Regions from separate parts of the Homo sapiens genome. Here region 1 is linked to region 2. Evidence: promoter capture Hi-C in 16 types of primary human blood cells and fetal thymus (Javierre and others, 2016). All regions are on one chromosome and are shown on one strand. The core of a region is centred on a gene start or on the middle of the fragment in contact, and the rest is flanking DNA. Distances in the headings are between cores, read along the strand shown. Region 1 holds the start of MIB2 (MIB E3 ubiquitin protein ligase 2). Region 2 holds the start of C1orf159 (chromosome 1 open reading frame 159).

Region 1 (6,078 bases), core at 1,674-4,173, 500 kb before region 2:
CTCTAGGACAGATGTTCCCCCAAGGGCCCCTCACTCCCTCTGCCTCCACCCTGGACCTGTCCAGCATCCATTCCTTCCTGGAGAGCAGGAGGCCTCTGGGTTGCCCCCTCCTATTTTTCTGTTCTACACCCACAAGGCTCCAGGTGCAGAGGAGGGGACCCGTGGGACCTGATCACCCTGATCACCTGCCCACAGCGGGTGAGCTCTGGGCCAGAGGCTGCTATGGGAAGTGCAGATGTCCAAGGCTAGCCCTGCCCTCACACCAACCTGGCCAAGGTTTCCCAGAAAGACAAACCAGAGACAGCCACAGCCACAGCCCAGCACTGGTGGAGGGGCTCCAGGGAGCAGACCAGCAGACCAGAGCTGTGGCCACGCAGCCCCTGGTGTACATCGTGGCGTACATGGCTGTGGCCACTCCTGCTCCTCCTCTTGGAAACATACAGCCCAGGCTTCCGCTTCAGGATGCTGCCCCACAATGGGTATCTTCATCTCAGTCAGAAATTTACTCAGAGAGTTACCAAATGTTTTTTCCTTTGCCAGAAATGCTAGACTTTGCCATCTACCCACAGTTCACAGGCTGTGCCCCTGGCTGGCATCTGAACCCCGCTGCAGGCAACTGCTCCCGATGTTTAAAATGATGGAGGCAGTCAGGGTGTGAAGACTCGGGCGACAGATCGACAGATGTGCTTTGGCAAATCGGAACTTACCTCAGAGCACACACCAGCCTCGAGGCAGCGTCCCAGGCATTTAATTGCTACTTCCTGGGTCACAGATTCGCTCGGCTACCAGGCTTTCCTGTTGGAAGCTAAAGCCACTGGAGACACAACACAGCAAACCAGACGGGCAGCCAGCAAGCCAGGCTGGAGAAAATGGTTTCTAAAGGCAGTGTCACACATTTAGCATTTACCGTCTTAACCACGCAAGCAGACACCGGGTCTGTTCTATTGCTGCTTAGTTTCTCTTTTTCACAAGAAACTGCAAGCTCTCAGAGGGCAGGAGGACTTCCGAACCATCAGTCAGGAGAGTGTAGGAGGAGAGAGTTCCCTTATTGCAAGTATTTTATCGGAGAAGCTTTAAAAGCCATAGAAACCAAATCCTATTTAGCGAGAAAGTTAGCAAATTGCCTTTATTCAGAAGAAGCAAGTTACATGGAACTGGACATGAGGCTGCCCTCCTCCTTGCACCTCCAGCTGTGCCTAATGACACCGAAATGCCGCTGTGTGTGGCACGCCACAGGCCATGGAGTAGCTCCAGCTAACGCAGATGGACATCCCAGGTGCCCCAGGGAGATCAGGCCCACGGAGTGGGATGAAGCCCTGAGGCGGGGAGGCCAGCATGGAGACACCTGCTGAGGGAAAGCCCACGAGCGCTGCGGCCACCTCCAATCCTGCCCATCTGGGTGGAGACCTACAGGCACCCTGCAGGCTGGGGTGTCATCCCACTCACCGCCCAGGGCTGCCCTCGGCCAGGAGAGCGCCACATTCAGACACTTGTTGCATGTGAGGCAACAGGCCAGGGTGGAACCGGACAAAGGGGGCCTCCCGGGAAGGGCCAGGCTTGCCGGCGCTCCTGCGCTGCGGCCGCTCTGCCCCAATCCTGCAGGTGCCTATCAGAGGCCTGTCTGGCACCTCTGCTTTCTTCCTCCATGGGTTCCGAACTCAGAGAGGAGACGCGGGATTACTCACCACTCCCCTCCACTCGCATGCATGCTCAGACACAAACACAGCCTCTCTGACGTGGCTTCCACGGAGCCCCAAAGTGGGAGAGCCAAGTGCAAACTATCAGGCCGCGGACGATCAAGAGCTCACCTGTCCGGCCGTCCAGTCGCCCGCCGGGCCGCCTTGAGGCTCCTGGGCTGCAGCCCTGATGCCTGGAAACTTTGGGACTGGCCTCTAGCCTCGCTGGGCTTCCAACCCTGTGGCCGAGGGGAGATGCCAAGATGCACAGTTAGCACCTCGACCCGCGGCTCGGTCGCCTGTCTGCCCCCGGGGCTGCCCGCCGGCTCCAGGTCCACTCGGGCCCACGGCCGCGACACTCAGGGCCGCCGCCTGCCCGGATGGGCTCCCTGGGGTCTGAGCGCGCAGGAGCCGCCAGCGCCGGGCCCGTAATTGCGTGCGCCCGGGGTCTGGCGGCCGCGGCTCGCAGACGTCAGGAGGCTCCGGGACGCGCACGGGCGCCGGCGCAGGGGAACGGGCGGGCCAGGGGCGGGCACGGCGGGCACCCCCACCCGGAGCGCGCCCCGCCCCCTGTCATTCGTGCCCGTGGCTCGCGGAGGCCGCCCGGCCCTGTCCGCTGCCAGACCTTGCCAGGGCCGCGCAGTACCTGCCGACCCCAACTTGCCCGGACGTTTCCGTCCCGCCCGCTCCGCTCGGGGGCGCGGGACCGCCGGCCAGTCCGTCTGTCGGTCTGTCCCGGCGTTCGAGGCCACCCACCGGCCCCGACTGCTCAGCGGCGGCCAGGCCAGGCCAGAGCGCCTGCCGCGCGCCGCAGCCCACCCGGCCCGGACGACGACCCCAGCGCCGACCCCAGCGCCGCTGGCCCCGGGCCGCGCGAGGCCTGCCGGGAGCTGGAGTCCCGCGCGGGTGGCCGGACCACAACTCCCAGGAGGCCCCGCGGCGGCGCTGCGCGCGCAGCCCCAGCCCATCCCGTGCGGACCCTACGCCGAGTCCAGCCCGGGGCTGCTGGGCCAGCGGGAGCGGGAACCGGACGGCGCTCGCGTTCTGCCAGAGCGGAGAACGACTCGGGGACGGTGCGGAGGACCAGGGGAGGAGATCCGCGCCCGCACGCACCATCAGCCGAGAGGACGGCCCGCATCGCGCCAGTGACCTAGGAGCGACTCGGGGACGGCTTCGGGCTCCCAGGCCCTCCTGGGCCACCGGGCACTGAGGAGAGCGGCGGCTGGAAACTGTGGGACCCGAAGGGCGGGAGCCCAGGGCCCGCCCCCGCCGGAGCGCCCCCGCCATGGCCACGCCCCCGCCACGGGGATGGGCAGGGCAAGCACCGGAAGTGCGTCACGCGGGAGCGTCTGCGTCGCCTACCCTGCGTGGCGCAGCTAGGTTCCGAGCGGCTTAGCCTCCGGGCGCCTGCGCAGTGGCGGTCCTAGAGACGCACTCGGTTGCCATAGAGACGGGGGCTTGGGAGCGACGTCGCGCTCGCTGGCACTGGCGGCACTTGCCGCGCCGCAGCCACCTCTTTCCGACTCCACCAGTGCGGGCCCTATCCGGGGTTTTGAGTCACGCAGACCTGGACACAGCGAGAAACGGCAGTCCGGGCCCGTCCTCCCGCCCCGGGTTCTGCACCCCAGAGTTGGACGCTTGCTTCTCGCTTTCTCCTGAGAGAAGTCTCCGCGTTTCTGAACAATGCACTGCTAGTTTCTCATTTCTTTCTTTCTTTCTTTTTTTTTTTTTGGAGACGGAGCCTCGCCCTGTCGCCCAGGCTGGAGTGCAATGGCGCGATCTCGGCTCATTGCAACCTCCGCCTCCAGGGCTTAAACTATTCTCTTGCTTCAGCCTCCCGAGCAGCTGGGACTACAGGCATGCGCTACCACGCACAGCTAATTTTTGCATTTTTAGTCAAGACGGGGTTTCACCATTTTGGCCAGGCTGATTTCGAACTCCTGACCTCGTGATCTGCCCTCCTAGGGCTCCCAACGTGCTGGGATTATAGGCGTGAGCCACCGCGCCCGGCCTCTCATTTCTTAATTGTAGACATTGCGTACTTCCGGAGAAGGTCCCTGAGAACCTGGCTGATCTTCCCCGCTGCACCCCTCACGTGGTCCTGTTAGCTCCCAAACTGTCAACCTGAAAGGAAACCCAGAGGCAGGCTCTCCAGGACAAGTGAGTTAATCTGGGAATCGCAGGGGGTTGCAGCCTAGGCTGTTCGTGCCATGACAGATCATAGGCCTATCTGAGAGGGCCGGGCGAAGGGGAAAATACAGATGAGCTCACAAAAGTTGTTTTGTAACAAAAACCACTGGCTGTGGGCGCTTGCTGCAGGAGTGGGCGTTAGCTTGTTGTTGGAGAGAGCCTTACCAGGCCGACGTCCTTGTGCAAGCTGCTTATCTAGAATACTGCAGTCCTGAGGAATTTCCCTGCAGTAAGTCCGGTTACAGGCAAACGTGCAGGACGTGCAGGAGCGTCTTGTGAGGAGGCCTGCTGCAGGTATTCCTGCATGAGAGCTCCCCCTTCGTGGCCTCCCGACTCCATTTGTTTAGGGATTGGTGGAAGTAGTTCCATTTTGGTACCTGCAACTTTCACAGCTGTCGTGATGAAATCAGGCTTAGCTCTTCATGATTGAGTACCTGCTGTTCACTGCTACAGTATAAAACCATGCCACAATTCCTGTACAATCTTTTTTTTTCTTTTGAGTTAATAATTACCTAATATTTTCACATATCTAGCTTTTTACTAACCCATGGCCAGCCTTTTTTTCAAGTACCCCAACGTTTTCGCCACATGCCTAACGATACCGTTTTCCAAAGGCTCAAACACATCCGTTGTGTCTAACTGATTCTCCTGTTCCGACCTAGACCGATCACTTCCTGACCCGGCTGCACAGCTCTTATCTCGAGCTTTTCTCTGCTCTCATCCTTGAGACTCACTTTGTCTGTCTCCTTTCTTGGATTCCCTGTGTAAACGAAAAATAAAATCCTAAGCTCTCTACCAACTGTTTTTTGTTTTGTTTTGTATTTGAGACAGGGTCTTGCTCTGTTGCCCAGGCTGGAGTGCAGTGGCACTATCTTGGTTGACTGCAGCCTCTGCTTCCTGGATTCAAGTGATCCTCCCACCTCAGCCTCCTGAGTAGCTAGGACCACAGACATGCACCACCATGCCGGTTATTTTTAAATTTTTAGTAGAGACAGGGTGTCACCATGTTGCCCAGGCTGGTCTCAAACTCCTGGGCTATGCTGTTTGCTCACCTCTGCCTTCTGAAGTGCTGGGATTGGCTGGGTGCGATGGCTTCACGCCTGTAATCCCAGCAGTTTGGGAGGCTGAGGAGGGCAGATCACTTGAGGTCAGGAGTTCATGACCAACCTGACCAACATGGTGAAGCCCTGTCTCTACTAAAAATACAAAAATACAAAAAAAAAAAATATTAGCCAGGCATGGTGGTGCACGCCTGTAGTCCCAGCTACTTGGGAGGCTGAGGCAGGAGAATTGCTTGAGCCCAGGAGGTGGAGGTTGCAGTGAGCTGAGATCGTGACACTGCACTCCAGCCTGGGGAACAGAGCAAGAATCCGTCTCAAAAAAAAAAAAAAAAAAAGCCAGACGCGGTGGCTCATGCCTGCAATCCCAGCACTTTGGGAGGCCAAGGCAGGCAGATCATGAGGTCATAAGATCGAGACCAGCCTGGCCAACATGGTGAAACCCCGTCTCTACTAAAAATACAAAAATTAGCTGGGTGTGGTGGTGGGCACCTGTAATCCCAGCTACTTGGGAGGCTGAGCCAGGAGAATGGCTTGAACCCAGGAATCGGAGGTTACAGTGAGCCAAGATCATGCCACCGTACGCCAGCCTGGTGACAGAGGAAGACTCTGTCTCAAAAAAAAAAAAAAAGAAAAAAAACCAGCCAGGCACAGTGGCTCACGCCTGTAATCCCAACACTTTGTGAGGCCAAGGTGGGAGGATCACCTGTGGCCAGGAGTTGGAGACCAGCCTTGCCAACATGGCAAAACCCCATCTCTACTAAAAATACAAAAATTAGCCGGGCTTGGTGGTGCTCGCCTGTAGTCCCAGCTACTTGGGAGGCTGAGGTGGGAGAATTGCTTGAACCCAGGAGGCAGAGGTTGCAGTGAGCCAAGATCTGGCCACTGCACTCCAGCCTGGGTGACAGAGTGAGACTCCGTCTCAAAAACAAAAAAAACAAAAAAAAAAAAAGAAAAGAAAAAGAAAAAACAAAAGTGCTGGGATGTGAGCCACCACACCCAGCCAGCCCTCCACCAACTGAACAGATTCCCTTTTGACCAAGGGGACCCCAGAGAAATTTTTAAAACTGAGTTTCCAGCCGGGTGGATCCGCCTATAACCTATAAGCCCCCACTTCAAGATATCCCACCTTTTTAGGCCAAACCAACGTATAC
Region 2 (6,055 bases), core at 2,845-5,344:
ATGGTAGACCGTGGAACCACCGAGCACGCGCCCTTTTGAGGCAGGATTTTCTCGCCAGCCAAGGCCCTTGGAGTTGTTCAGGTCCCCCCAGATGGACGCTGCCTCCTTTGTTGTTGTTGGTTTTTTTTTTTTTTTCGTTTTTTGGGTTTTTTTTTTTTGGAGATGGAGTCTCGCTCTGTGGCCCAGGGGCGCGATCTCGGTTCACTGAGACCTCTGTCTCCTGGGTTCAAGTGATTCTCATGCCTCAGCCTCCTGAGTAGCTGGAATTACAGGCGTGTGTCACCACACCTGGCTAATTTTTTTTTATTTTTAATGGAGACGTGGTTTCACCATGTTGGCCAGGCCTGTCTCAAACTCCTGACTTCAAGTGATCCGCCCGCCTTGGCCTCTCAAGAGTGCTGGGATTCCAGGCGTGAGCCACCGCGCCCAGCCGGATCCTGGCCTCTTCATGGTGCCCGCTCCTCAGGGTGTCTGCACGGGGTGGGCTCACCACCCACCTGGGGGGGAGTGTTGTTTCGAGTTTGGAGCTATTAAAATGAAGCTGCCGGCGAGTGTGTGAAGTTTTTATTTCTCTGAGATGAATGCCCCAGAATGCCACTGCTGCCTTCCACGGCACCTGCATGTTCCAATTTTTAAGGAACTGCCAAGGGCTCTCCAGGGGGCCGCACCATTCCGCAACCCCCGCAGTGCATGAGGGACCAGCTGTGGCTGTTTAAATCCTGGCCATCTGGACAGGCGGTGGCATCTCCTTCTGCTCTTAATTCACAGCCCACCAGCAAACATTTTACACTGTATTTACAAATGCGTATGTTCTAACTCGTTTGCAAACACTTTGAATTAACAAAATCTTCCCCACTAAATCACTGATATACCTCCAGACTCGTTAAACATATAGTTTGTTCCTAAAATCTCTTAAGTTTTCCAAGACCCTACATAAATGCAGTAAGATTCCACTTACACTACAGAGCCTAAATAATTTCCTCATTTGAAAGATGATTCAGTGGCAAAGCCGACCCTCTCTCAGGACAAGTTCTCTTGAGCATTATGAATGCCGGGCTGGGCACGGCAGCTCACACCTGTGGCCCCAGGTGCTGTGGGAGGCCAAGGCAGGAGGATCCTTGAGCCCGGGCGGTCGAGGCTGCAGTGAGCTACGATGGCACCACCGCACTCCTGCCTGGGCGACAGAGCGAGTCCTCATCTCAACAAAACATCCCGCCCCTACAAAACCCCATGCATTACAAACATAAGATGGTTCTATTTTAATACAAAAAATATTAGTGCACAGCTTTTTAGTTCCCCAACCTTCCCATACTGCACCTGAAGTCTCTGGGGAGGAAAGTGCTCCCTTTCGGGGACACAAACAGCCCGGTTGGCAGAGGTGGGGTCCCTGGTGTGATCTGTGGGCACCTGCGACTTACGATGCTCCCCTGTGGCTTTCAGACCTAGCATCCCTGCTATAACCTGAGGATGGGATTCAGCCCGTGTGGCCCTTAGGGGAGTAAATGTCGTTTCTGTTTTAGTCTAGAGATTGTCCTTCAACTTGATGCGACCCTACGGTGTCCTTATGTTTCCACCTGGCCTAGTGGAATCCTGCACCCTTTCGTGTTCTCGGGAATGTGCACCCCGTGCGGTTACTCAGGAGGGAGCCTCCAGGGACATCTCGCATGGCCTCGTCTCCCTTCCCCAGGGAGAGGACGAGCTATCCACTGCCCGCCTGACAGACGAGGGAGTGCCCAGTGCCCAGGCAGCTGCTGTCAGGTTGGCCCACGCCGGCAGGGGCTCTGCTCCCAGAGATCAGGTGGGTGCTGGTCTCAGAGCACAGTTCAGCAGGTGCTGGGTGGGCCCTGTTGGGGCCTGCAGCCCGGGCCCGAGGCACACACACATGCACTGCACGGCTTCCCGCAGCTCCAGGACTTTGCCTTCTTCCCTCTGACAGGGGCCAACGTGTAGAGAGGTGCAGACCACCATGAGTGACGGAACAAGGGGCGGGGACACTTGTGGACCAAGCTCCAGCATAAGGACACGGTCACCCAGGGCCACAGCCCCAGGCCAAGCCGAGGGGTAGGGACTTGACACTGACACAGGCAGCTTCCGCAGCTGTGAAACCACCCGGGAAACGCTGGTCTTCAGGAAATAGTCAAGAAAGTGGACGCCAGGCATGGTGGCTCACGCCTGTAGTCTCAGCACTTTGGGAGGGCCAGGCGGGAGGACTGCTTGAGCCCAGGAGTTTGAGACCAGCCTGGGCAAAACAGACCCCCGTCTCTACAAAAAAATAAAGAAATATGTGTCAAGGCATGGTGGCACACACCCGTGGTCCCAGCTACTCTGGAGGCTGAGGTGGAGGATCGCTTGAGCCTAGGAGGTCCAGGCTGCAGTGAGCCACGATCATGCCACTGCATCCAGCCTGGGTGACAGCGTGAAATCCTCTCAAACACAAAAAAACAAAAAGGAAGTGGAAACACTGGCTCAGCTCCACAATGAGTTGCCGCAGACGGCAAGAGCCTGTGGCACAGACTGGACTCCGAGAAGGGGACCGCGACTGTGTCCTCCCCGTGGTCCTCAAACGTCGCCCAGGCCAGGTTCCTCTTAATGGGACCGACACAGAAGCTGCACGTCCGCGGGCGCATGGCCGGAAACCCTGCAGCTGTCAGCGAACCCCTGGTGCTGGGCGCCCACGCCCAGGTGTCCCACGGCCAGACACTGGTGGCATCAACTCCTCCAGAGGCCCTGAGGGAACCCTGGGATGGACCCTCAGGCGAACACTGTCCCTCTAAAGAGAAGACACAAATGTGACTTCCCCAGCTGTCCCCAATACTGTTTACAAAACATCCTCACGCTGTTAAGATGGGGGCTTTATTTCCATTGAAATCTCTGGCATTTAAACTTGGGATGGAACCCGGAGGCGGCGTCCATCAAGGAGGAACAACCCCAAGGCGCATGCAGGACGGGCCTGGGAGCTCCCGGGAGCAAGGGAGCTGGGGGGTCTGGGGGCCTGGGAGGTTGGGGGGTCTGGGGGGTTGGGGGGTCTGAGGGGTTGGGGGTATATGGGGGGTTGGGGGATCTGGGGGTTTTGGGGGGTCTGAGGGGTTGGAAGGGTCTGCGGAGGTTGGGGGGGGCCGCGACACCTGCAGCGCCCCCCCACCCTGCGCGCTGGCCCAGCTAGGAGAGGGCCCGGGGACACCGACAGGATTGAAGCCTTTGATGAGCGGACGGACGTCCCCAGTTCCTTCGGGGAGCTCCTTTAAACATGTTTGCCGAAAGCTGCGGGCGCCGCGGGACGCACAGAGCTGTCTTTTCTCCGAGGGTGGCTCAGAGGCAGAGCCCCGGAAAAACCCACGCGCCCGGCCTGTGGGGCAGCGACGCCGCCCAGACCCCGGGGCCGCCGAGACTCACGGGGGAGCGTCCTGAGACCGCAGAGCCCTGACCCGTCCGAGAGGCGAAGCCCCGGGAGCCCTCTGGGTCCGAGCCGTCCCAGTCCCGCACCCAAGGCAGGGTCTCTCCCGCCGCGCTCCGACACCGGCCGCCGAGGTCCCAGCACTGGCGCCGGCCGCGGACCTGGGGCGCATTTGGCGGCGGCTCGCGAGGCGCTCGGGGCGCTCCGTGGGTCTGGAGGGCGCTGGCCCCGCGCGCCCGCGGCCAAACCTGGTGCAGCCGCGCCGCCTTCTCCGATGAAGCCGAAGCCGCCCCGGCCGCCCCCAAACGCTCCGCCTCCGCCTCCGCCTAAACCGGCGGAACGCTAAGGACGCCGACGCTTGTGCGGTCGCCCGGGAGACCCCGACGACGCCCCGCCCCGTCTCCCGGCAACGCCAAGCAGCCGGCGCGCGAGGAATCCGGGGGAATGTAGTCCCTCCGTGTCAGGGACCCGAGACATGCGCTGGTTCTTCTAGGACTACATTTCCCAGGGCGCTTCGCGCCCCGCCCCGGCGCCCCACCCACGGCCGCGCGCGATGGTACCACCAGGCGAGGGCGGCTCTCGCGCGGGCCGCCGGGAGTTGTAGTTTTCTTTGGGAGCTGCGGGGCCTGGCGCCGGGGCCGGGGCGGAAGAAAGACTACAAGTCCCAGGGGGCGCGGCGCCACCGCCTGAGGGCGGGGTGTACGAAAGAGAAACCCGGAGGGCGCCGGGGTGAGTGAGGGGCTGGGGGCAGGCGTGAGGGTAGCGGGTTGGGGCGCTGGGGTCCGTCTGGGCGGCCGGGTCGGCGCAGGGAGTGCGAGAGGCAGACAAAGGTCGGCGGCCCTGGCCCGGCCCGAGGGACGTTCCCTGCGCGTCCCCCATTGTGCGGCGCGCGGAGGAGCCGCCAGCGCCTGGGCCCGCGTCCTCGTCGCCGCCTCCCAACGAGCCTGGCCGCGGTCCTATGGGGGAAAGGCGCCCGGGCTGAGCGGGACGCCTGGGGAGGGGAAGGGGCGTCTGAGGAGGGCAGGGGGACCCCGGGGAGGGGTGGGGAGGGGGTCCCTAAGGAGGGGAGGGGGTTCCCGGAGCGGGGAGGGGGGGTCCCTGGGGAGGGGAAAGGTTCCCGGGGCAGGGAAGGGGGTCCCTGGGGAGGGGAGGGGGTCCCTGGGGAGGGAGGGGGGTCCCTGGGGAGGGGAAGGGTTCCCGGGGCAGGGAAGGGGGTCCCTGGGGAGGGGAGGGGGTCTCTGGGGGAGAGGGGGCACCTGGGGAGGGGAGGGGGTTCTCGGGGCAGGGAGGGGGTCCCTGGGGAGGGGATGGGACGGGCGCCCGGGGGAAGAAAGGGGGCGCGTTCGCCTCGCCTTCCCGGCAGCCGGGAGTGGGGGCACCGGCGCGGTCCCCGGTGTCCTAGAAGTCGGCCACGATTCAGGTCTTTTTCCCGCGAGGCTTTAGGATTTGTTTTTGTCCGTTTGTCACCTGGAGTAGCCGAGGGCTAGTCGGGGTGCAGTTTTTCGGGAGCGCGTGTTCCGGTGGCAGCGAGTCGATGATTGAGTTTGGGTGTAATTTAAGCCCAGGTGTTCGGGGGCATTTCTTACCGCGTTTCAAAGCAAACGCGGCTTCTTCCCCGGGAACTATTTTGTGGCTGAATTCTTAGCCGCCTCGTCCTGTTAAATTTCAGGATGTCAAACTTGGCCTCCTTTTTTTGGTTTTCATTTTTCTTAGTATTACCAGGGTGTGCAGAGAAGGCAGAGCTGCGTCTTCCTCTTTTATTTTTCCGTAAGTTACTGGGGTACAGGTGGTGTTTGGTTACTTGGTTACATGGGTAAGCTCTTTAGTGGTGATTTGTGAGATTTTGGTGCTCCCATCACCCGAGCAGTACGCACTGCACCCTATTTGTAGCTTTTTATCCTTGTCCCCCTCCCACCCTTCCCTCCGAGTCCCCAAAGTCCAGTGTATCGTTCTTAGGCGTCTTCCTGTTTCCTGATGGCTTAACCTGGGAAACCCTCGCAGAGGGAGCCGGTTTTGAGCCCCAGGGTAGGGGCGGCCGCCTGGGATGTTCAGTGATGCGCCTGATTACTCAGGTTTATGTTCCCCGTTTGCATTCAGCCAGGATCCGTCATGGCCACGTTGTTTTTAACATACATGTTTATGAATTATACAGAAACGTTGTTTTCCTGACACACATCCCGCCCCCAGTACTCCTCCTAAAAGCCAGTCAGGCAGGTGTTTCCACACGCAGTCACCTCAGCCCTGGGGTGCACAGGCAGCATCCCGGGAACCCCTGAGATACCTCCCAGCTGCTCCCTGCCTTGCGGCTGCTCTCCACCTGAGCTTTGACTTACTGGGTAGCTCATTTAAAGAACAGCTAGCGCTGTGGGTGCTGGGGTGGGAGATCGCTTGAGACCAGTCTGGGCAACATAGGGAGACCTCGTCTCTATAAAAAATAAAAAATATTATCCAGGCATGGGGGCAAGCACCTGTGGCCCGTTACAGTAGGTAGCTAGTCAGACATGAGCAGGGCAGAAGAGGGGCCCCCCTCTACCAGGGACATTTGGCTGGTAAGAGAAGGCGGCCCTGGCTGTGCGCGGTGGCTCACACCTGTAATCCCAGCACTTTGCAAGGCCGTGGGGGGAGGGGGGCGGATCAGAAGGCCAGGAGTTTGAGATCAGC

What was found. Contacts are between HindIII fragments. The CHiCAGO score rates a contact against its expected background, and 5 or more counts as called.
Region 1: a contact is called between the fragment with the promoter of MIB2 here and the fragment with the promoter of C1orf159 in region 2, in 1 of 17 cell types (fetal thymus). The highest score is 5.6, in fetal thymus.

What each region holds. Positions count from the first base shown.
Region 1 is chr1:1,612,345-1,618,422 of GRCh38, reverse strand. It overlaps MIB2 (MIB E3 ubiquitin protein ligase 2), which reads right to left and starts at 2,923. Exons shown (of 20, transcript NM_001170687.4): 1 at 2,790-2,923; 2 at 1,809-1,915. RefSeq lists silencers at 1,989-2,078, 2,109-3,158 and an enhancer at 3,259-3,428. The HindIII fragment of the contact is 6,747 bases long and covers 1,074-6,078 here.
Region 2 is chr1:1,114,128-1,120,182 of GRCh38, reverse strand. C1orf159 (chromosome 1 open reading frame 159) reads left to right here and starts at 4,094. Exons shown (of 10, transcript NM_017891.5): 1 at 4,094-4,123. RefSeq lists silencers at 3,424-3,473, 3,514-3,633, 3,804-4,403. The HindIII fragment of the contact is 13,608 bases long and covers 1-6,055 here.